Linked DNA regions of Homo sapiens: regions 2, 3, 4, 5, 6 and 7 are each linked to region 1. The links are contacts of gene promoters, found by promoter capture Hi-C in blood cells and fetal thymus (Javierre and others, 2016). All regions are on one chromosome and are shown on one strand. The core of a region is centred on a gene start or on the middle of the fragment in contact, and the rest is flanking DNA. Distances in the headings are between cores, read along the strand shown. Region 1 holds the start of BLACE (B cell acute lymphoblastic leukemia expressed). Region 2 overlaps RBM33 (RNA binding motif protein 33). Region 3 has its middle 14 kb from the start of PAXIP1-DT. Region 4 overlaps RBM33 (RNA binding motif protein 33). Region 5 has its middle 33 kb from the start of PAXIP1-DT. Region 6 has its middle 14 kb from the start of HTR5A. Region 7 has its middle 19 kb from the start of HTR5A-AS1.

What was found. The method cuts DNA at HindIII sites, captures the fragments that hold promoters and counts their contacts. A CHiCAGO score of 5 or more calls a contact.
Region 2: a fragment that was not itself captured here is called in contact with the fragment with the promoter of BLACE in region 1 in 6 of 17 cell types (fetal thymus, M0 macrophages, total B cells and 3 more); the score reaches 8.1 in fetal thymus.
Region 3: a fragment that was not itself captured here is called in contact with the fragment with the promoter of BLACE in region 1 in 8 of 17 cell types (total B cells, activated CD4 T cells, megakaryocytes and 5 more); the score reaches 8.1 in total B cells.
Region 4: a contact is called between a fragment that was not itself captured here and the fragment with the promoter of BLACE in region 1, in 2 of 17 cell types (neutrophils and M0 macrophages). The highest score is 5.5, in neutrophils.
Region 5: a fragment that was not itself captured here is called in contact with the fragment with the promoter of BLACE in region 1 in 2 of 17 cell types (neutrophils and activated CD4 T cells); the score reaches 5.9 in neutrophils.
Region 6: a contact is called between a fragment that was not itself captured here and the fragment with the promoter of BLACE in region 1, in 1 of 17 cell types (neutrophils). The highest score is 5.5, in neutrophils.
Region 7: a contact is called between a fragment that was not itself captured here and the fragment with the promoter of BLACE in region 1, in 6 of 17 cell types (naive CD4 T cells, total CD8 T cells, activated CD4 T cells and 3 more). The highest score is 6.9, in naive CD4 T cells.

The regions. Positions count from the first base shown.
Region 1 is chr7:155,366,186-155,369,572 of GRCh38, reverse strand. It overlaps BLACE (B cell acute lymphoblastic leukemia expressed), which reads left to right and starts at 1,640. Exons shown (of 6, transcript NR_103545.1): 1 at 1,640-1,764. The region is part of intron 2 of LOC105375593 (a long non-coding RNA gene); the gene reads right to left. The HindIII fragment of the contact is 7,901 bases long and covers 1-3,387 here.
Region 2 is chr7:155,737,080-155,740,466 of GRCh38, reverse strand. It overlaps RBM33 (RNA binding motif protein 33), which reads right to left. Exons shown (of 18, transcript NM_053043.3): 10 at 2,805-2,937; 11 at 2,064-2,407; 12 at 441-752. Among named protein-coding and RNA genes, the nearest start is that of SHH, 74 kb to the left of the region's middle. The HindIII fragment of the contact is 3,853 bases long and covers 1-3,387 here.
Region 3 is chr7:155,015,381-155,018,767 of GRCh38, reverse strand. No RefSeq gene overlaps it. Among named protein-coding and RNA genes, the nearest start is that of PAXIP1-DT, 14 kb to the right of the region's middle. The HindIII fragment of the contact is 2,868 bases long and covers 170-3,037 here.
Region 4 is chr7:155,710,067-155,713,453 of GRCh38, reverse strand. It overlaps RBM33 (RNA binding motif protein 33), which reads right to left. Exons shown (of 18, transcript NM_053043.3): 8 at 1,999-2,251. Among named protein-coding and RNA genes, the nearest start is that of RBM33, 67 kb to the right of the region's middle. The HindIII fragment of the contact is 1,306 bases long and covers 1,129-2,434 here.
Region 5 is chr7:155,034,439-155,037,825 of GRCh38, reverse strand. No RefSeq gene overlaps it. Among named protein-coding and RNA genes, the nearest start is that of PAXIP1-DT, 33 kb to the right of the region's middle. The HindIII fragment of the contact is 890 bases long and covers 1,368-2,257 here.
Region 6 is chr7:155,054,376-155,057,762 of GRCh38, reverse strand. No RefSeq gene overlaps it. Among named protein-coding and RNA genes, the nearest start is that of HTR5A, 14 kb to the left of the region's middle. The HindIII fragment of the contact is 8,811 bases long and covers 1-3,387 here.
Region 7 is chr7:155,088,381-155,091,767 of GRCh38, reverse strand. No RefSeq gene overlaps it. Among named protein-coding and RNA genes, the nearest start is that of HTR5A-AS1, 19 kb to the right of the region's middle. The HindIII fragment of the contact is 5,653 bases long and covers 1-3,387 here.

The DNA of each region.
Region 1 (3,387 bases), core at 391-2,890:
TAGGATTCTAAGCCAAAAGGCCTTTCTAGAACTTTCTGCATGTACCAAAGAAGCTGCTTCCACCTCACTGCCTCCTTTCCACTGTTAGTGTTCTGCTGAGGCTTCTCTTGGGCTCTGCCTCTCCCTGCCCAACACCTGAGAAAGGCCTGATCAGTGCTGGAGGCACTGGGTGGCACCTCTCCTGCGGACGTGCTTCCCACGTAAGGCAGGTATAGGGAGACCTGCCTGTCTAGAAAGACATATGTTTACATGTCAGAGAGAAACACAACACCTGCACTCTCTAACCATTTCCTGAAAGACCCCTCTTGACACACCTTAGGGGCTTCAGGGCCACACTGCCTGGCACAGCTGGTTCCCAGTGTGGACCTGTCTCCACTGCCAGCCCCTGCCCCACCCTCTCCACCTGAGTCCTGATCCCTGGTGACCAAGAGAGGCTGTGCTGCTTCTGGCCTTCACAGTAAGCCAGATGGCCTGGGAAGCGAGACTCTCTCTGCCTCCCAGCACTCCAGGCTGCAGTTGCTGTTTCATCATCCATGGGTGTAAAACACCAAGCAAGTGACATGATACAGAATGACCTCCCTGTGCTGGCAGTGGCACCACAGAAACAGGAAGACTCAGAGCCAGAAGCTGCCTGCGCAGATTGCCATTATGGAGCCTGGGAAATCAAGTCCTAGAAAGATTATCTGTTTTTTTTTTTTTTTTTGAGATAGGAGCTTGCTCTGTCGCCCAGGCTGGAGTGCAGTGGTGTGATCACTGCTCACTGCAGCCTCTGCCTTCTGGGCTCAAGCAATCCTCTAGCTTCATCCTCCCAAGTAGCTGGGACTACAGGCATGCGCCGCCATGCTTGGCTAATTTTTTAAACTTCTTGTAGAGACAAGGTCTCACTATGTTGCCCTGGTTGGTCTTGAACTCCTTGGCTCCAGTGATCCGCCTGCCTCCAGTGATCCTCCCACCTCGGCCTCCCAAAGTGCTGGGATTACAGGCATGAGCCACTGTACCTGTCCTAGAAAGATTAAAGGATACCTCTACGTCTACCTCTACCTCTACCTCTACCTCTACCTCTACCTCTACCTCTACCTCTAACCTCTAACCTCTAACCTCTAACCTCTACCTCTACCTCTACCTCTACCTCTCCCCACGGTCTCCTTCCACGGTCTCCCTCTGATGCCGAGCCGAAGCTGGACTGTACTGCTGCGATCTCGGCTCACTGCAACCTCCCTGCCTGATTCTCCTGCCTCAGCCTGCCGAGTGCCTGTGATTGCAGGCACGCGCCGCCACGCCTGACTGGTTTTCGTTTTTTTTTGGTGGAGACGGGGTTTCGCTGTGTTGGCCGGGCTGGTCTCCAGCTCCTAACCGCGAGTGATCCGCCAGCCTCGGCCTTCCGAGGTGCTGGGATTGCAGACGGAGTCTCGTTCACTCAGTGCTCAATGGTGCCCAGGCTGGAGTGCAGCGGCGTGATCTCGGCTCACTACAACCTACACCTCCCAGCCGCCTGCCTTGGCCTCCCAAAGAGCCGAGATTGCAGCCTCTGCCCGGCCGCCACCCCGTCTGGAAAGTGAGGAGCGTCTCTGCCTGGCCGCCCATCGTCTGAGAGGTGGGGAGCACCTCTGCCTGGCAACCACCCCGTCTGAGAAGTGAGGAGCCCCTCCGTCCAGCAGCCACCCCGTCTGGGAAGTGAGGAGCGTCTCCGCCCGGCAGCCACCCCGTCCGGGGGGGAGGTGGGGGGGGTCAGCCCCCCGCCCGGCCAGCCGCCCCGTCCGGGAGGTGAGGGGCTCCTCTGCCCGGCCGCCCCTACTGGGAAGTGAGGAGCCCCTCTGCCCGGCCAGTCGCCCCGTCCAGGAGGGAGGTGGGGGGGTCAGCCCCCCGCCCGGCCAGCCACCCAGTCCGGGAGGGGGGAGGGGGGTCAGCCCCCTGCCCGGCCAGCCGCCCCGTCCGGGAGGGAGGTGGGGGGATCAGCCCCCCGCCTGGCCAGCCGCCCCGTCCGGGAGGTGAGGGGCGCCTCTACCCGGCCGCCCCTACTGGGAAGTGAGGACTCCTCTGCCCGGCCAGCCGCCCCGTCCGGGAGGGAGGTGGGGGGTCAGCCCCCCGCCCGGCCAGCCGCCCCGTCCGGGAGGGAGGTGGGGGGATCAGCCCCCCGCCTGGCCAGCCGCCCCGTCCGGGAGGTGAGGGGCGCCTCTGCCCGGCTGCCCCTACTGGGAAGTGAGGAGCCCCTCTGCCCGGCCAGCCGCCTCGTCCGGGAGGGAGGTGGGGGGTCAGCCCCCCGCCCGGCCAGCCGCCCCGTCCGGGAGGGAGGTGGGGGGATCAGCCCCCCGCCCGGCCAGCCACCCCGTCCGGGAGGTGAGGGGCGCCTCTGCCCGGCCGCCCCTACTGGGAAGTGAGGAGCCCCTCTGCCCGGCCAGCCGCCCCGTCCGGGAGGGAGGTGGGGGGTCAGCCCCCCGCCCGGCCAGCCGCCCCGTCCGGGAGGGAGGTGGGGGGATCAGCCCCCCGCCCGGCCAGCCGCCCCGTCCGGGAGGTGAGGGGCGCCTCTGCCCGGCCGCCCCTACTGGGAAGTGAGGAGCCCCTCTGCCCGGCCAGCCGCCCCGTCCGGGAGGGAGGTGGGGGGGTCAGCCCCCCGCCCGGCCAGCCGCCCCGTCCGGGAGGTGAGGGGCGCCTCTGCCCGGCCGCCCCTACTGGGAAGTGAGGAGCCCCTCTGCCCGGCCAGCCGCCCCGTCCGGGAGGGAGGTGGGGGGGTCAGCCCCCCGCCCGGCCAGCCGCCCCGTCCGGGAGGTGAGGGGCGCCTCTGCCCGGCCGCCCCTACTGGGAAGTGAGGAGCCCCTCTGCCCGGCCAGCCGCCCCGTCCGGGAGGGAGGTGGCGGGGGTCAGCCCCCCGCCCGGCCAGCCGCCCCGTCCGGGAGGTGAGGGGCGCTTCTGCCCGGCCGCCCCTACTGGGAAGTGAGGAGCCCCTCTGCCCGGCCACGACCCCGTCTGGGAGGTGTGCCCAGCGGCTCATTGGGGATGGGCCATGATGACAATGGCGGCTTTGTGGAATAGAAAGGCGGGAAGGGTGGGGAAAAAATTGAGAAATCGGATGGTTGCCGGGTCTGTGTGGATAGAAGTAGACATGGGAGACTTTTCATTTTGTTCTGTACTAAGAAAAATTCTTCTGCCTTGGGATCCTGTTGATCTATGACCTTACCCCCAACCCCATGCTCTCTGAAACATGTGCTGTGTCCACTCAGGGTTAAATGGATTAAGGGCGGTGCAAGATGTGCTTTGTTAAACAGATGCTTGAAGGCAGCATGCTCGTTAAGAGTCATCACCACTCCCTAATCTTAAGTACCCAGGGACACAAACACTGCGGAAGGCCACAGGGTCCTCTGCCTAGGAAAACCAGAGACCTTTGTTCAC
Region 2 (3,387 bases), core at 436-2,935, 370 kb before region 1:
AACAGAACAGTCAACGTATTTTTCCTGAATTCATTTATGTATTTATTCAGGGACCAAAAAGACAGAGATAATCTATACATCAAAAAATAAGCCACTGGTAAAGGGAAAGTGACTACCACCCAAAAGTATTTTCTAAAGTTACGTGTCTATTAATTCCTGTCTATTGCTATAGAAATATCTAGATACAAGAAAGATGCTTAAGTAAATATTAACACAGTCTTTGAGACACAAAAGGAGTATCTTATCAATTCTTGTAGTCAAGAAAACAAATCACCTGAGTGTTTTTTAAAACATGGATTCACTTCAGAACTATGTACTACACATTTTATAAACAGAAATCAGAACTGGAAAATATTCTAACCTACATATTATGCCCCTCAAGTCCTGTAAGTTAAAAGGCCTCCCAGGAAGACACAGGGAAGACACCCCTTGACACTTACATGCCGGAGCCCCTGGCGCTGGGGGCACTGCATCCGGCTGCTGCTGGCCTGAGGCTGAGCGGTCTGTACGTGAGGCCGGAACTGTGGCTGAGACATCGGCATCAAAGGAGGGGGCGGGACGGACAGGTGGTGGTGGTGGTGGTGGTGCTGGTGCTGCGGCGGGTGCTGTGGTGGGTGCTGGGGTGGGGGCTGGTGCTGGGGCGGGGGCTGGTGCGGGGGCTGGTGCGGAGGCTGGTGCTGTGGCGGGGGCTGTTGCTGAGGTTGCTGAGGCTGAGGCTGATGCGGAGGGGGCAATGGAGGATGCAACGGCCCCTTCCATTTCCAAAGAAAGAGAAACAACAGTTCATAAATGGTTACACCGGGCATAATCACTTCAATCATTTCCTAAAAAACCTCAACACAAGAAAGGAACTTTCAGCGATACCAAAACTTCATTTTAGACTTGCTGATGAAGGTAATACTATCTAAAATGCAGTAATAAGCCAGAAGCTATTACCTTAAATTTTATATTTAATCCAGTAATTCTAGGATTGAATTGTCCTAAGGAAAACTAGGTATGCAGACAAACTCATAACTCTAAAGCATGTTCCCTGTAGCACTATGATACTAAAGTACTGAAACCAGTATACACACATGCAACCACACAGACAGCATGAAAGGGAACCGCATACAGCACTCTCAAACGATGGCATCAAAACCAACTCGCTGACATGAAAAGATCAAATGATATGTGACACTGGAGGGAAAAAGCAGGTGGCGAGAAGATGTGCATTTAAAAAAAGACAAAAAAAAAAGCTCCTGAATTGTTTCTAGGTAACGAGAGTATTTAATTTCCTTTCTTATATATACTTGAAAATTTCTGCAATGGGGATGTATTAATTGCATTTTTTTAATAAAAAGAAAAATTCTTAAAAACATTTTATCTTCCTTTAACACCCTAGATAATATTCATTTTCCGTTTTTGGCTTAGATACGTATTCCACGTATTTTTAAATAGTTGATTCAAGTTTACCATCGCTATGTATTTTAATAGTAACCCTACAATACAAGAAGAAATATACACTTGGTAAGAAAGATGTTACAGACGCATGTCAACCCATGAAGCAGAAGCCGATGGGCAGAGGGCACTCAAGGCCTTCAAATAACCAGTGAAAACCCATGAAGCAGAAGCCGGTCGGCAGAGGGCACTCAAGGCCTTCAAATAACCAGTGAACAGCAACATCTTCTTCCCTCCATGCAAAGACTCTTTTCAAAACTGTCTACTGCAGGAATATAATTTGACAAAGTATTTCCACTGGTAAACCTCTCATGAAATTTTATACAGATGAGCAAATGTATTATCAAAACATGTCCTAATTTTATTAGTAGTATACCCTTTAAACAATTATAATAAGTAGCATTTTTCAATTCCCAAAAAATGACATTTTCCCATTTTTTTCTTGTATTGAGATAAGTAACATTGTTGAAAAAAGTTGTCTTTAACAAACAGTACATTTGAGACTAATACTCTATTCTTTAAATAACCACAAATTAGTAGGCTCAAATAAAAATCTGAAACTTTATGGAACACAAAGCCTTGAAGCTACACATTTTTTCCCTGGAGGTTCACTCAGGATGCATTACCTGCAGGTTGGGCTGTGTGTGTGTGGGCAGAAACGGCTGTCCTGGGCCTGGCAGGAACGGCTGTCTAGGAGGAATGAAGGGCCGTGTGGTTGCCGACCCAGGCTGGCTAAAGTGCAGAATCCCCACCGGACCTGGAGGCTGCAAGGCTGGTCGTACGGGCCGCTCTCTTGGGAACACTGGCTGCTGTCCTTGCTGATTAAATGCTGGTCCTGGCTGAGTGAATGGTAGAGGACTCTGAGTAGGAACAGGATGGCTACTGTTAAGAAGGGTAGGAGGCGGTGGTGGTGGAGGGGGACTTCGCTGTTCCAGAAAAAGATGGCTCGGGAATCTTGGTTCACCTGAAACTGAAAGGTAACACAACATCATTAACTTCAGGTTAAAAAGACCATGTGCTTCTCAGAAAAGCAGTCTGAAGCACTATCCTACTGTGGACAGAAGTCACAAGTGTTGACAGGTTATGAATGTTGGAAACAATTCCAGATTTTGCCTCTTATTTCTAGATTGCTTCATTTGTCATTTTCTATACATAAATTCCCTTTTATATGAGATGTTCCGATTTCAGATACCAACAATGTCCAATTTTAGCACCTGAAATGACAGGCAGAACTGCTATGGTACAAAAACCTGGCATTCCTAACATCTCCAACTGGGAGTTCAATTCAGTTTACAAAATAAATGTGTTTGGGCACATCACCCAATGCAGCTTCTGTTGTTACTCCACACCACTCACTCTTTCTGTACCTCCTAAGAAGAAAGGGTCTCGATCCTGAGGCGGGGGTGGGGCTCTCCACTGGTCCTGGAGAGGGAGTCGTGGGGGCTGGCTGAAACTGTTGGGAACAGGTCCAGGTGTATGCTGTGGAAATTCTGGAGGGCCCTAAAGAACAACAACAACAACAGAGAAACAGGGTGAAGGACAGAAAAATGGTATGTAATTTTTAGAAATATAGACCTGGTTCCAAGTTTTCCTCAAAAATGTCAAGTAACGTGTCTCCTAACAGTCACTGTCTTTCTCTTTCTACACACACACACACACACACACACACACACACAGAGTCATGCATCCTTAATGACAGGATACATTCTGACACGCATCCTTAGGTGATTCCATCATGCGAACACCACAGAGTGTATTGTAATCACACACACACACACACACACGCGCACCTAGATGGTAGCGCTTTCTACACACCTAGCCTGTATAGTACACACTAGTAGCTCCAAGGCTACATACCAGCGCAGCATGTTACTGTACTGAATACTGTAGGCAACTGTCACACAATGCTAAGTATCTGTGGATGTAAACATATCCAACCCTAGAAAAGGT
Region 3 (3,387 bases), core at 354-2,853, 350 kb after region 1:
AATGATTATAACGTTGAAATATCTGCCTTTTTCCTAATAAAAATGGTTTCTATTAATACCTGTGGAAAATGTCCCTAAAATTCCTATATTTATCTTGATAGACATTGAATTACCTGCTTTTAGATTGCTGCTCTTCTTTTATTCCATGAGCTCCACTAAACAATAAGCTTTTATATTGAACATGCGACGAGCACATTTCACTAAGACTTTCTTCATTTTCACCTGTGCTGTGCTAATAAGTCTCAAATTAAACAGCGTCATCCAGTCTCCACAGCTGGCATTGTGCCCCACTGAGTATCGCCAACTGGAAAATGATTATTTGGGGAGGCTTCATAATTACGCTAAGATGAAAATCTTGGCAGCTAGGAGATACTTATTTTTCAAGATTTGAGAGAAAATTTAATGAAAGTGTCACAAATATATTACTTAGGATGATAGTTTGCACTTAATATGAGGCCCCATTTCTCAGTGGATTTCAAAGTCTTGACTAATTAATTAGCCCTAATTCCCTTGTTTGCCTGATGGTCAAGCATTCAGACAGACCTCCTGAGACCGCAGAGTTATCACAGTGAAGCAGGGAGAGTGCTGTACGGGGGTCAAGAGGCTCATTAGTTAGTGAACACCTGTTGGGTTTTAGTCTTTCTTTGTTTCTTCCACTTGCTAGTGTGTGACCTTGGAAAACCTAACACAGGGTCAGCAAACCAAGGCCCAAAGGCTAACTCTGGCCTGCTACCTGGTTTTGTACATAAAGTTTTATTGGAACGCAGTCTTGCTCATTTTTACACAGAGTGTCTGTGGCTGCTTTCACACTGCAATAGCAGAGTTGAGAAGTCACAAGAGAGATTGTATAAACCACAATGCCTAAAATATTTTCTATCTGGGCCTTTACAGAAAAATGTTTGCTGACCCCTGATCTAACCTTCCCAAACGTGTTTCCCCAGCTGTAAAGTATAATGAAATAGAACAAGGAAACCTTATTAGAATAAGTTTTAAATTTGTATTCTGATGATTATCTTTAAAGAGGCCCTAAAAGGTGAAAAATCCCTGGCAGTGATGTTAATTCATTCAAAATGCATCCATCCACTCCTTAAATATTTACTCATCATCCATTTGACATCAGGCCTCATACTAAATATGGAAGAGAATATGTGTTAAGGGAAAATAAAACTTGTTTTAGGCCAGGTGCAGTGGCTTACGCCTGATATCCTAGCACTTTGGGAGGCCAAGGCAGGAGAATGGCTTGAGCTCAGGAGTTCGAGACCAACTTGGGCAACCAGTGGACCCCATTTCCCTTTTAGTTTTTTTGTTTTTTTGTTTGTTTTGTTTTGTTTTGTTTTGAGACAGAGTCTTGCTCTGTCACCCAGACTGGAGTGCAGTGGCACCACCACGGCCCACTGCAACCTTCACCTCCCGGGTTCAAGCGATTCTCCTGCCTCAGCCTCCTGGAGTAGCTGGGATTACAGGCGCCTGCCACTGTGCCTGACTAATTTTTGTATTTTTAGTAGAGACGGGGTTTCACTATGTTGGCCAAGCTGGTCTCAAACTCCTGACCTCAAGTGATCCACCAGCTTCAGCCTCCCAGAGTGCTGGGATTACAGGCATGAGCCACCGTAGCTGGTCTGAGACCCCATTTCTACACAAAATGTAAAAAGTAGCCAGTGGTGTGTACCTGTGGTCCCATCTACTTGGGAGACTGAGGTGGGAAGGTCCCTTGGGTGCTGTGAAGTCGAGGCTGCAGTGAGCTGTGATGGCGCCACTGCACTTTCAGCCTGGGCAACAGAGCAAGACCCTGTCTTAAAAACAAAAACTTGTTTTAGTCTTGGAGGGGTTGGGAGTGGGGTGGTGGTGGTGATGCAATGGCAAAGTATTTTAGAATACAGTCTTTTTGATACTTTAAATATAAGTATTGGGATGAAGGCAAGCTCTCACATTTGAGGCTCCCTCCAGCCTTGTTTGTACTCCTTACCCTGAAAATGGTTCACAGCAGCACCACACCAGACATTATGTTGGGTGAGATGAACTCTCTCACATGTGGTTGAGTTAGTCATCCTTGATCCAAGCCAAAGAGCCGCCAGTTATATAATTCATTTATATTTATGTAAATCACAGTAGAAGAGACCAAAGAAATTCTTTCTCAAGGCATCAGAGATGTTTCATAAAATGGGACATCTAAGGTTGGCCATAGGAAGAGCAGGTGCGATTTGTGCAGGTGCATGAGTGCAGAGGGTTGCTGGTGATGGAACACAGCCATGGCTGCGGTGGGAAAGTTCTGGATGTGTTTGGAGAGTCAAGTGCTGTAGTCTAGTCTGCTAAGAGTGGGAGGACATGGGCCTAGTGTGCTCGGGCTACGGTGTACAAAGGTGGGGTGTATGGTGGAAAGCAACAGCTTAGAGAGTTCTCTGAAAGGCAGGCTAAGGTGACTGAACTTCAGTCTACAAGTGGTGGGAAACTATGGGACATTTTGGAACCAGAGCATTGAGTCAGCATTGTCTAGCTAGTACTTTTTTGGATATTGTGGAACTAGCAGCACTATTTTGCCTGCTATTATACACTGAATAGGGGCAGGCCAGGCACGGTGGCTCACGCCTGTAATCCCAGCACTTTGGGAGGCCGAGGCCGGCAGATCGCTTGAGGTCAGGAGTTTGAGACCAGCCTGGCCAACATGATGAGACCCCGTCTCTACTAAAAATACAAAAATTAGCCAGGCGTGGTGGCACGTGTCTGTACTCTCAGCTACGTGGGAGACTGAGGCAGGAGAATTGCTTGAACCCGGGAGGCGGAGGTTGCAGTGAGCCAAGATTGCAGCACTGCACTCCACCCTGAGTGACAGGGTGAGACCTTGTCTCAATAAAACAAAAAATAAAATAAAAATAAAATAAAATAAACAGAATAAGGGCAGATATTTTCCAAATGGAATCAAATGGAATACCAGTTTTTACTGTCTCAACTTCAGCCTGTAAATTTTTTTGATAGGAATTGAAAATAGTAGGATTCTAATTTATGAGAAATATGGACAGTCATTTCTTCATATAAAGCTTTTCCCCGAAGGTCTCCAATCTGCTTCTTTGTACATGTCTCCCGCGCTCCATCCCGCAACATCTTCCTCCAGGCAGGAGCTGACTGCTAGTCCTGCCAGCCCACCATGCTCATTCCCAAGCCCAGGCCTCTGCTCAGGCTTCTCTTCCACAGGGAACAGGCATCCTTCTCTTCCTGTTGATCTTCGAAGGTCTCTCAAGACCCCTCCTCTAAGACAACCTCCCAAAACATCCCTGTCTCCGTCGCATCTCACACTTTGTATTCCATTACTCTATGCAACTCACGTTGGCATTTGATATGCTGCTTACAGGCTGGAACTCAGTCACTCCATGGACGGGCCTTGACTGCAAC
Region 4 (3,387 bases), core at 532-3,031, 340 kb before region 1:
CTTGGCCTCCCTGACGGGTTCTCCTCCTGCCCCTCCCCCTCCTGTGTCAAGTGCCCTAGGTCCCAGTCCTTGGTCTCCCCACACACAGACTCCCTCCTCCAGGGCTCTCATTTGAGGGCAGGGTCTAAATCCACCTATTCACCAACAACCTCCTGACCTGTACTTTGAGCCCAAACCCCTATACTGAATTCTCATCCAACTGCCTACTAGACCCCTCCACTCACATGGCTAGTTGGCATCTCAAATTTAATGCACCCAAAACAGAACTTTTGATCTCCCCACCTCAGGTGATGGCAACCAGACCAGCCCTCTAAATGCTCTGGTCACCTGGGCATCACTCTTACCTCCTCTCTCCCTCTCACACTCATCCAATCCATCAGCAAATCCCATCGGCCCCATCTTCCTACTTCATCCAGCTCTGAGCTCTCTGCACTCTCCCTGCTACCACACTGGTTTGCACCAGGATCATCTGTCACCTCCTAGCTAGACACCAGCTTCCACCCTTGCCACCCGACAGTCTCCTCTCAACACGGCAGCAAGAGGAATCTTCTAAAACATACACAAGGTCACGTCATTCCTCTGCTCAAACCCCTCTAATCCCTGCCCATTTCACTCCCTGCCAAAGTCCTGAGAATGGCTGGATGGCCCCACGGCCCCACGGTACCCAGGTTCTGCATTTCTTCTCTGCTTTGATCACTCCACAAAAGTCACGCTGGTCTCCTTTTGGCTACTCAAACACACAAGGCAGGGTCTCTCCTGGAGGAAGCCCCCTTATACTTGCTGATCACTCTGCCTGCAATCTTCTTCCCTGAACAGCCACATTGCTAACTTACAGATATCCCTCAACTCTTTCCTGCTCAGTGAAGTTCACCCTGATCACCCCATTTAAGATACAACCCATCCCTTCCCCGCATCCTGCTCAATTTCTCACTGCATTTTCATCTTCTAACATGCCACATAAAATACTTATGTTTACTGCTAATAAACAATAATAAGACTGTCTGATAGAAAGTAATATCATGGTTGAAGAAAGCTTTGTCTGGTTTGTTCGTCAATATAACTCAAATGCCAAAAATAGAGTAGTAGCTCAATAAATGTGTGTGTTCACAGGTACATGAAGTTAAAGCTTCGTATAAACTGCTCAAAAACCGTTTCCTAGCTTAAGGAACATGTTTCAGTAATAATCAGATCTGTATTTATTTGATTACAACAACTAAAAGATGGTGTGTCCCCTCTCCACCAGCTGACACTGGAATTGAAGGGGGGCATGCTGCCTGGAACCAAAGAGGGACACTCACCACTGCAAACATCCTCACCGGGAGACTTACAAAGTGTCACAGTTCAGGCATTCCAATAGCGGTCTCTAGTGTATTCTTTGCATTCAGACTGTACTCTCAGCACTTTCCACTCAATTATACAATAAGAGATACACATTTTTAAAGAAATATACTTGACCCATCAAACTAAAATCTAAATGAATGGGGAAGAGCCAAGGAAAACTCAATCTTACAAATTTGAATGTGAAAACTATTTTGCCGCAGAGACGGCTTCAGTGCAATAAACTAATAAATGCCTTCAGATGCACAGTAATCTATAACATAACAGATGCTCCTCAACATAGGATGGGGTTACATCCCAATAAGGCTATCGTTAGTGGAAAAGACCCTTAGTCAAAATGCATTTAATATGCCCAACCAATGAAACATCATAGCTTAGCCTCACCTACCTTCAGCTCAGAACACTCACATCATTGCACAGTTGGCAAAATCATCGGGGCTGGGAACCGCAGCTCCCCCTGCCCAGCTTCGAGGGAGTTTTGGGATGCATGTTGCTACCCCAGGAGAGATCAAATCTCAACATTCGAACGATGATTTCTTCTGAACGCATACTGCTTTCACACACTCATGAAGTCAAAAACGCGTCAGTGGAAAAATCCTAAGTCAAACCATTGGAAGCTGGGGCCATCTATGCTTTACAATAGTAAAAGGAAACACAGACCTTGAACAGGCGTGACCACCGTCCCTTTGAAGTGCGGGTTGATGTGTATGTTCTTGGGCTGCTGTGGAGTCACGGGTGGCGGGGTCATCATCATCCTTGGGGTCTCTAGCTGGGGAGGCATGTGCATTCCCTGAGGCGGGGATGGGTGGTGCGGGTGCTGCACCGGAAGCAGCGGCTGCAGCGGCTGCGGCTGGAACAGGCTTCTGATCGGCTGCTGCTGAGGCGGCGGTGGCGGTGGAGGGGGAGCCTGGGGCTGTGGAGGAATTAACCTTGGAGAATGAGTCTACAAATCACAAAAAAAAAAACAAAAGTTCACCGAAATCAACATTTAAAAGAATGCTGATGTGTTACAAATTTACACTGATTGCATTTTTTAAGTTACAATGTAAGAAGTCTGTAGTAACAACTTGTATCAAAACAGCAGGATAAAGAAGCTTCTCTACTTCTTCACAATGAGGGCTACAGTCTCACAATTGAGTCAATCCCCACGCAAGAGGGAAAACAGCCCCAAAGCACCCAGTGTGAATTTTGAAAAAAAAAAAAAAAATTCAGTTCAGGGAATTGAACTGCCCACACTGAGCAAAGCCCTGTGCCAGGGACAGAAGAGCAGCTGCCACAGCCCTCCCTGTAGCAGCCTTGCATCCCCCTCCAGGAACTCTGGTAAGCAAGGCAGGAGATGTGCACCAGTTACCCTGCTCCAGAACTGAGGCCTGAGAACAGGACAGGGCCACAAAGAGCCTCCAGGAGAGGCTGGGAGGGAGCTTCTCTGAGAGGGTGACACCTGAACTCGGTGATGAAGAAGAGAGAGGTGCAAGGCAGAGTGAGGGACAGATACCCAGAAAAAAGCAGAAGCAGCACAGACCCACCTGCTTAGTAAAATCAGGAGACCAGGGAAGAAGGCAGGAAAGAAGGTAAGAAAATTACACACTCAAAGTGATCAGAGATCTCAATTCGAGGGTGGTTATTTTATCAAACAGTCACTAGAGAGGAAGAAATCAACAACTGCAACAGCTGCCGTGGACTAAATCTTCCCCACATTTTAAGTTCCTACTATACGGTCAGTAGAGAAAGTCAGCTGACCTAGCTCCCCACAATCCTATAAACTAGGTCCTATTTACTGACCTCCTTTTACAAGATCAAGTAGCTGGAAAGGAGAAAAGCCGGAACTGGAATTCAGGCCATCTGATTCCACAGGTTTTGCTTTTAATCACTAACCAAACTGACGACACAGCTAATTAGCAGTAGACCACTACTTATTCAGTTGTCTAATTTAACAAGCATTTTCCCTGAGATGATGCCAAATTACGGAGGGCTTCTAAATTCCAAGTAAATGATCCATTACTATGCCACAGAGACAACACGTATAATAAGGGATCACGAATGATCTCT
Region 5 (3,387 bases), core at 563-3,062, 330 kb after region 1:
TGCACATCAGGCCTAGAAGGCAGCAAGTCCAGATTGGAGCAAAAGCTCCAGGCTCTAGGAGAGAGGTCTCAAAAAAGATGGCCCTGATACAGCACTGGATATGTTCACAGGAAAGCTGCACAAAAGACAAAGTCAGGGAAGCAAATTAAATCCAGGGAAAATAATGTTATATAAGAAATGGAGGCAGTGTGTGGTGGCTCACACCTTTAATCCCAACACTTTGGAAGGCCGAGGCGAGTGGATCACCTGAGGTCAGGAGTTCGAGACCGGCCTGGTCAACATGGTGAAACCCCATTTCTATCAAATATATACAAAAATTAGCTGGGCAAGGTGGCAGGCACCTGTAATCCCAGCTACTTGGAAGGCTGAGGCAGGAGAATTACTTGAACCTGGGAGGCGGAGGTTGCAGTGAGCCAAGATCACGCCATTGCACTCCAGCCTGGGTGACAAGAGGGAAACTCCATCTCAAAAAAAAAAAAGAGAAGTGGATTGGAATATAATCCCAGTATATATTGTGACCCAGCTATGAATAATAATCTTTACACAGCTTTAATAATAAAACACTGAATATTTATTATATAGCTATATTGAGAAGTGAATGGGGGGTGGAGTGAGGGAGGTATAATCTGTCTTCATTTTCCATAGTTAGGAGTCAATAATAAAAGTGAAAAATTGAGAAACAACAGCATAAGCATTCTATTTAAAAATATACAAGTAGGCTGGATGTGGTGGCTCATGCCTGTAATCCGAGCACTTTGAGAGGCCAAGGTGGTGTCAGAGACGTTTGAATCAGAGCAACTCCATCTTGAATAGGAGCTGGGTAAATATATATATGGCCTGGCATGATGGCTCACGCCCATAATTCCAGCACTTCGTGAGGTTGAGGCAGGCAGATAACCTGAAGTCAGGAGTTTGAGACCAGCCTGGCCAACATGGCCAATATAGTGAAACCCCATCTCTACTAAAAATACAAAAATTAGCTGGGCGTGGTGGAAGGCGCCTGTAATCCCAGCTACTTGGGAGGCTGAGGCAGGAGAATCACTTGAACCTGGGAGGCGGAGGTTGCAGTGAGCCAAGATCGTGCCACTGCATTCCAGCCTGGTGGCAGAGCGAGACTCCATCTCAAAAAAAAAAAAAAAAAAAAAAGCAAGATGGAGTTGGTTAAATCAGATGTTTTTTACTGTTATAATATTCTCACTGGTATGAATTTTGGTATTTACAAGTAAATGCCAAAATAAATAATTACTGGAGCTTTTTGGGGTTTTTTGTTGTTGTTGTTTTCTGTTTTGTTTTGTTTTTTACAGATTGTCTTTCAGATAGGGTAGATTGCTGATCTTTATTGTACATCTTGTAGAACTCATTAAGCTTTAATAAAACATTGGTTTAAAAAATCCAAAGTAGGGATTACAAAGCCATCACCTGAAAACAAGCAGACAATTGATTAAGAAACATTATCAGTGTCAAGAAATTGAAGGCCAGATGCGTTGGCTTATGTCTGTAATCCCAGCACTTTGGGAGCCCAAGGCGGGCAGATCACCTGAGGTCAGGAGTTTGAGACCAGCCTGGCCAACATGGTGAAACCCCATCTCTACAAAAAATACAAAAATTAGCCGGCGTGGTAGTGCGCACCTATAATCCCAGCTACTCAGGAGGCTGAGGCAGAAGAATCGGTTGAATCCGAGAGGCGGAGGTTTCAGTGAGCCAAGATCCCACCATTGCACTCCAGCCTGGGGAACAGAGCAAGACTCCATCTCAAAAATAAGAAGAAGAGGAAGAGGAAGAAGAAGAAGAGGAAGAGGAAGAAGAAGAAGAAGAAGAAGAAGAAGAAGAAGAAGAAGAAGAAGAAGAAGAAGAAGAAGAAGAAGAAGAAATTTAAACTGCCTCTGCAAAATTCGTAACAGTGAGAAAATTATGACAGTGAAAAAGATCTGATCTAACCAACTCCATCTTGCCTTTAACCTCCAAACTGCCCTTGGTCATTCCTGAGCTTAGGCCAAGCTAGCTTTGGGAGAAATTGAGTTATGGTTTAAATGCTAATAGCCATTCCCAAAACTAAACCACCTTTGTAAAACTAATGAAAAGCCACCAGGTTAGCAGTGTGAGAGGGGCCTGAATTCTGCTAAGATGTAGACATAATTAACCAATTACCAGCCATTGTTCCAGAGGTCACAAGATTTGTAACTTCTCCAACTACTCCTGTAAATAACGTCACTACTGTAGAACCTAAGATTTGCCTTTTGAGATATCTTTTCAAGCTTTTGCATTTCTGAAGACCAGATGGTCCCACCCGGTCCAGCGACTTCTCTGTGGACCCCACCCAGAAGCAGCCGGCACAGAACGGCCATTTTCCACACCTCTAGGATTGCAACCCCAAACAATCAGCATTGCCCCTAACCCCAGCCCCCTGCCCACCAAACTATCCTTGAAAAACCCTAGCATCTAGATTTTCAGGGAGGCTGATCTGAGTAATAATAAAACCCCAGTCTTCATTTTATTTTATTTTATTTTATTTTTATTTATTTTTATTTTTTATTGATCATTCTTGGGTGATTCTCGCATAGGGGGATTTGGCAGGGTCATAGGACAATAGTGGAGGGAAGGTCAGCAGATAAACAAGTGAACAAAGGTCTCTGGTTTTCCTAGGCAGAGGACCCTGCGGCCTACCGCAGTGTTTGTGTCCCTGGGTACTTGAGATTAGGGAGTGGTGATGACTCTTAACGAGCATGCTGCCTTCAAGCATCTGTTTAACAAAGCACATCTTGCACCGCCCTTAATCCATTTAACCCTGAGTGGACACAGCACATGTTTCAGAGAGCACCGGGTTGGGGGTAAGGTCATAGATCAACAGCATCCCAAGGCAGAAGAATTTTTCTTAGTACAGAACAAAATGGAGTCTCCTATGTCTACTTCTTTCTACACAGACACAGCAACAATCTGATTTCTCTATCTTTTCCCCACATTTCCCCCTTTTCTATTCGACAAAACTGCCATCGTCATCGTGGCCCATTCTAAATGAGCTGTTGGGTACACCTCCCAGACGGGGTGGCGGCCGGGCAGAGGGGCTCCTCACTTCCCAGAAGGGGCGGCCGGGCAGAGGCACCCCCCACCTCCCTCCCGGACGGGGAGGCTGGCCGGGCGGGGGCTGCCCCCCACCTCCCTCCCGGACAGGGAGGGTGGCTGGCCCAGTCTGCATTTTAAACAGCTCTACGTGTATTAAACTTTTTCTCGATTGCAATTCCCCTGTCTTGATAAATTGGCTTTATCTAGGCAGTGGACAGGATGAACCCACTGGGCAGTTGCATGATTTTTAAATTCTAGCCTTTGCATATAGATACAGTACAAGTCTCCAATATTAACAAGTAGGAATAGCACCAAATGAGAAGATTG
Region 6 (3,387 bases), core at 513-3,012, 310 kb after region 1:
GGATTTCTGTTGTATTTGCTAATTCCTCCTCAGCGGGTGCAGTTAGAATCACGTTATCAATATAACGACCATCTGGTATTATTTGGGATGTCAAGTTCCTTCAAGACGATATAATATGGAGGGCAGAAGAATTGACAAAATCGTGACATAAGAAAATGAAGGTCAAAGTGGGTTGTTTCTGTTTGTTTGTTTGTTTGTTTTTGTCAACTTGATTACTGCATACCAGGTTCCAGGGTTTATGTTTATTTACTCCACCAGAAATATGGCATCTGGGACCACAGCTGCAATCACCATAATCCACATTGATTACCCAAGACACTCATCTCTGATGCCAGCCAAGCAGATAATTTAAATAGTGATTCCTCAGGAACTGACCCCTTGCATTCTAATCTCCATAATTCCCTCGGGATTACAGGGGTGCTACAGGGAGCAGTTTCAAGGATTTTACTTGGCCCTTCTTTTCCACACCAATTTTTACTTCGCAGATGAGTGAGCTGATGTGGATATTCTGCAGCTGATTAAGCATCTTTATTCTAAGCAGTCAGTAACGGGACGGGAGCAGCCACGATTTGAGTCCGTGTGCTCACTGGGCCTGTAGCAGGATGGACTTGGGCCAAGATTCCAACCTCCATAATCCCCACTCTGACTGGTAGACATGGTGGTAGGAGGAGGCCCCAGAGATCCACGTTAGTGCAGATACAGTTTCTTAATTGAGTCACCCTGCCCCAAGCAAATTATGAGACAGAACATTGGGTATAAGTAGTTTGTTTGGGAGGTGATCTCTGAAAGCAGGAGCAGGGAAGCAGAGAGAGTGGGTGTGAGGAAGGAGGAGCCAATAAAAAGACACTGGAGAAGGCCAAGTGCAGTGGCTCATGCTTGTAATCCCAGCACTTTGGGAGGCCGAGGCGGGTGGATCACAAGGTCAGGAGTTCGAGACCAGCCTGGTCAACATAGTGAAACCCTGTCTCTACTAAACATACAAAAATTAGCTAGGTGTGGTGGCAGGTGCCTATAGTCTCAGCTACTTGGGAGGCTGATGCAGGAGAATCACTTGAACCTGGGAGGTGGAGGTTGCAGTGAGCCAAGATCATGTCACTGCACTCCAGCCTGGGTGACAGAGTGAGACTCCATCTCAAAAAAAAAAAAAAAAAAAAAAAAAAAAGACACTGGACAGCTGGTGTCCACTGTGGACAAGCAGGGTGTACTCCCCCTAAAGTCTATCCCTGAAGGGCAAGAGGCCACAACACTCACCCGCTGACTCCTACACCCCATTGGTTGATGTTTGCTCCCAAGGCGTCAGCCTCACCACCCTGCTTCTGGGAGGCTTCTGAGTGCAGGCTAAGTCCTCAGTCCTCATGGTTGCGAAGCAAGCCCTGAGGCAGGAGGGTGGAGAGAGTGCGGAATGCCATGCTGTGGGGTGCATGAAACTGTCCTGCTGAGCCGCAGCTGAGGTCAGAACCGGACCCCAGAGAACGGGAACTTCCCCACAGCCAGTGCCTAAAATGTCCTACAGGGGTGTGCATTTCCCTTGCACACTGGTAAGGGGCCAGGGGTCTCCCTGCAGACATTTGAAGGGAGGTGTGTAGTTTGCAGGTATGGCCACGTTGTGGGGAATTTCCCCAAAGGGGCCCAGCCTTCTCTTCAATCAAGAGGCCCCAGGACTGGGAGCAGGTCCAGTGAGGGGCTTTGAAACTCAGCTGTAGGCTGGGCACAGTGGCTCACGCCTGTAATCCCAGCACTTTGGGAGGCTGAGGTGGGTGGATCACCTGAGATCAGGAGTTTGAGACCAGCCTGGCCAACATGGTGAAACCCCGTCTCTATCAAAAATACAAAAATTAGCCAGGCATGGTGGCGTGCTCCTGTAGTCCCAGCTACTTGGGAGGCTGAGGCAGGAGAATCTCTTGAATGGGGGAGGTAGAGGTTGCACTGAGTCGAGATCATGCCATTGCACTCCAGCCTGGGCGAGAAGGGCAAAACTCCATCAAAAACAAAAACTCAGCTGTGGTAACTTGAGTCTAATTTCTGCCCACCAGACCCAGAAACGTTTTTATTATTATTATTAAAGTTAACGCCTTATTCGATTGCCCATACATTCTATTCCTAAGGTTCCATAATTGACAAGCTACCTCCTGGGACCCTGAGATCAAAATGCTTTGATTTTCTCTTTCCCTAGAGCCTATTACATAAATCTTGTCAACCATGTCTCTGACAGTTGTTTCCTCTCTGGGACCCCATTATTTCCATTCAAAGCAGGAGCCCAATTCAATGTGTCGTTTTTCTTTCATCCTCTCTATCATACATACAACAGCTTCCAACTATTCCAAGGATGGGCTGGGTGCAGTGGCTCACACTTGTAATCTCACACTTTGGGCGGAGACCAGTGGAATGCTTGAGCCCAGGAGTTCAAAACTAGCCTAGGCAATGTGCTGAAACCTTGTATCTACAAAAAATATACACACACAAAAATTAACTAGGCATGGTGATGCGTGTCTGTAGACCCAGCTACTCAGCAGGCAGAGGTGGGAGGATCAATTGACCCTGGGAGGCAGAGGTTGTGGTGAGCCAAGATCACACCGCTGCACTCCAGCCTGGGTAACAGAGCAGGACCCTATCTCAAAAAAAAAAAAAAAAAAAAAAAAAAAACTTTTCAAGGATGTTTCTGTTAACAATGCATTTCTGATTTTTTTTTTTTACTTATCTATTTTGGAAAATTTCAAACACACATAAAACTAAATCGACTGGCATAACACAATTTCACATACTCATCACCATCACATATGGTTCCCTTCAGATGACACATACTCAGGGGCAAGACTCATAACCTATTTTCATATTTGTTCTCTTAATTTTTGGAAAAGTTGCTGGTTTGTGAAAGACTACAGACATTAGGAAGTGACATTTGGCCCTGGGCTCCAGTGGACAGAAAGCCTCTGGTTCTTCTAAGCGCAGATATTGTGATTATATCTAGGACCCATTCTGTTCTTTACTTAGTAATTCTCTTTTCCATATCTCTTCCTTCAAAAACATTTTTTAATTAAAATATACTTTAATATATTTGGTGTCAACACATGAAAACTTTTTAGATAAAAGATTCAAATGAACAGGGTCATGTAGTCCATGGAGACTTGTTCTCATTAATTCTTATCATCTTCTCCCTTGAACAAGGTTCAGGCATATATAACACACACGCTGTGCCCCTGGGAAAGTGAACAGAAACAGTCCTGATGGGGACAAAGCTCCATGTGACATGACCACGAATCTGGGCAAAATTCTCTCCTTCCACAGCCCAGAAGACAGCATTGTCCTAAGACTAGACTCAGTACTACCAAGACACATCACCGATTCTGAGTAATGAGAACACACAGACCCATGGGGGGAACAACTCAC
Region 7 (3,387 bases), core at 457-2,956, 280 kb after region 1:
TGTGGTTTTGGTTGCACTGACAGGCACTTTCCTCCAGCTGCACTTGCAAAGCATCACAGGGCACAGCCAGAGTTATTCCTCTAGCCCTTCCCCCTTCTCAGCCTCAATTAAACATTAACTTGGATCTAGAATACATAAAAAAAAATTAAGCTCAACAAGATAAACTGAACCCTGTCAAAAAGATTCTAAAATGCCATATTTGGTTATATCAAAAGGCAATCCCTTTTGTTGTAAAATAATAAGGGAACATACTGGTGTCAATGGTGTGGGTTATCATTGCTGCCAGGCCAGGGGAGTCTTTTTACGCTTTGTTTGTTTTGCCTGTCTTCCTTTTCCTGTAGGCCAATTGTAGGAATAACTTTACCAAGTGGGAAAAACATCCAACTATCTTAAGGAGCAGGAAGGATGAAGAAAGCGAAGTGAGAGTCAGGCCCTTTTATTTAACTCCATCCCCCCATCTTCATCCCATCGTCTTCACTCCTAGACCAAGGACCCATTGCACCTTAACGGTGCTGGGACAGGACAGAGGCACCCTCGGTGAGGTGACAGTGAGCCCGTCGGTGGCCAAACAGGAAGCTGGGGGCTCATCTGTCTTTGTAAATCAGACCACCTCCTCTTTCATCTACGTGGAAACTGACTTGTCGCATGTTGGGAAGGTAACAAACCAATGGGGCACCGACTCTCTTCCCTTCTAACCCCCGAAGTTCAGTTTCCAACTGAGCTGAAGGTGGAGATGGGATCACTGGAGCAGCTGTTGCTGTAAATGCCACAGTCTCAAAGTTTGTTCACCTGCACACAGAGGGCTCGATATTCTTCCTTCCTGCTAACAGAAACCTTTGGGATACAGCCTGAGGTGATAGCTCTGTGCACAAAATATGACTCACTCAGTGAGTTGTGGGGGAGGAAGCCTCAAATTAGGTGGCTTCCGGGGTCTCAGCAGCTGTGGGCAGGGCCCTTCACATTAGGTGATGTGTAAAGGCCTTGTAATGAGTTGTACCTTCCACTCCTGAGTCAGGAAAGCTCCTGTTATGCCATAGGCTGAGACATGCGGGGCTGTGCCACTTAGGCCTCATTTTGATGATGACCCCTGGCTGATTTGTTTGCAGCTTTGTTATTACTACTGAATGTTTGATTAATGGAAATCTTCTGTATGCATACATACATATGTGTATATGTGTATGTGTGTGTGTGTGCATGTATACACACACACACACTCTCTTCCTTTTAACCAGGGAGAGACACCCAGGTTAGTGGCACCAAATAGGGGAGCAGGAGTGGCACCAAAGAGTGGAGCAGGAAGGAATGAGAGAAGCAGTCTGTTTCCATGTGGCCACTAATGCTTTGTGTGTCTGTGCTCCAGGCAGCAGCCTGATCCAGGGTAGGCAGCCAAGGGCTGAGTTCCTCCTGCCTTGCCCTCCCACCCATCACACATGTTGGCGAAAACTCTCAGCAAATAGAGTTCCAAGTGCTCTCCAGATACATGAATTGAGTTTTTATAAACAGAAGTGTATTTTAAATCTGCTACCTTAGTACTAAAGTGATGCCTTATAATTTGATGAATTATATTTGTGTATTAAATTAAATTAACCCAGTTTATATAAATCCATATCTAGTTTGCATGAAACAGAATATAGCAAAATGGAATTCTATATCCTTTCTTTTGTATTGAATTTATCCTCTCTTTTTAGTATTAGATTCGAGTTTCATATTTAGTTTGTTTTACATTAAAACAGCAATAATCCTTCGTTATCTGATAGTTTCTGTGATTTAGAAATTTGGGAGTGGCTTAGTTGGGTTCTGACTCGGGATCTCCCATGTAGTCAAGTGTAGTCAAGACACCAGCTGGGGCTGCAGTCATCTGAAGGTTTGACTGAGGCTGGAAGACTCGCTTCCAAGATGAAGCACTCAATGGCTGGCAAGTTACAGACTCACTTCAATTTGCTGCCGTGTTTCTCCTCAGCTCAATATCCCCTCCTCATCCTTTTTTTCTCATGCAAAGCCCCATTCCCCCTCAGCCTATTCTTACCACATGTAGATGTCATTCTAAATACCCAAGATGACCCCCAGGAAGACATCTGTTTGTTATCAAAATTCTTACTATTTTAATTTGAAGTATTTCCATTTAAGGTTCTAAGCACAAGAACCAAGAGAGGTTTTTTTATTTAAATCTTCACAACTATGGGGCTTGCCAAATGTCAAATTCTGTCCCAAATTCTAGCTCCCACCCATTCCTAGTTAATTACTGGGAATGTTAATTGTAGTTAATTCCAGCTCCCACCCGTTCCTAGTTAATTACTAGGAATGTTAATTCTAGTTAATTCCAGCTCCCACCCATTCCTAGCTAATTACTAGGGTAATTAACATTGGTCATTTAAAAATTGCTTCCCTTCAGCAGGGCACGGTGGCTCATGCCTGTAATCCCAGCACTTAGAGAGGCCGAGGTGGGCGGATCACAAGGTCAGGAGATCGAGACCATCCTGGCTAACACGGTGAAACCCTGTGTCTACTAAAAATACAAAAAAAAATCCGGACATGGTGGCGGGCGCCTGTAGTCTCAGCTACTCGGCAGGCTGAGGTGGGAGAATTGCTTGAACCTGGGAGGTGGTGGAGGTTGCAGTGAGCCGAGGTCACGCCATTGCACTCCAGCCTGGGCAACAGAGCGAGACTCTGTCTCAAAAAAAAAAAAAGAAAGAAGAAGTTGAGTGTAGCCTTAGTGAACATTGTTTACAAAGTCTGCGGTAGTGTACAGGAATGTCCTAGGTGTCCTAGGTCCTCACATTCACTCTCCACTCACTCCCTCGCTGATTCACCTGGAGCTACTTCCACTGCAGCAAGCTCCATTCATGGCAAGTACCCTGTACAGGTGCACCATTTTCAATCATTTTTTACTGTACCTTTTCTACATTTAGATATGTTTAGATACACAAACCCATTACCATCGTGTTACAGCTGCCTACAGCATTCAGTACAGTAACAGCCTTCACAGGTGTGCAGCCTAGGACCACGAGGCTACACCGAACAGCCTCACATGTATAGCGGGCTGTCCCCTCTAGATGTGTGTAAGTGCACTCTGCGACGTTTGCATAATGTCGAAATTGCCTAATGATGCATTTCTCAGCACATCCTCATGGTTATGCGTCCTGCGACTGTACATTAATCTCAGACCCTCCCCTTATTTGCACCAGTGGGCAGAGTCGTCATCTCCCCTACTTCCCATCTGCCATCGCTAATCCACCGGGGATTGCTTGTTAGGTCACCTGGGATTGGTGCAGTGTAGATCACGGTTAGGTTGTTCCTGATCTCTGGGGCAGATTTGGTCTGGGAACTGGTGCCACACGAGGTTGACCTCCAGTCACCAAATATCATAAAGGAAAAGGACACTGTTCC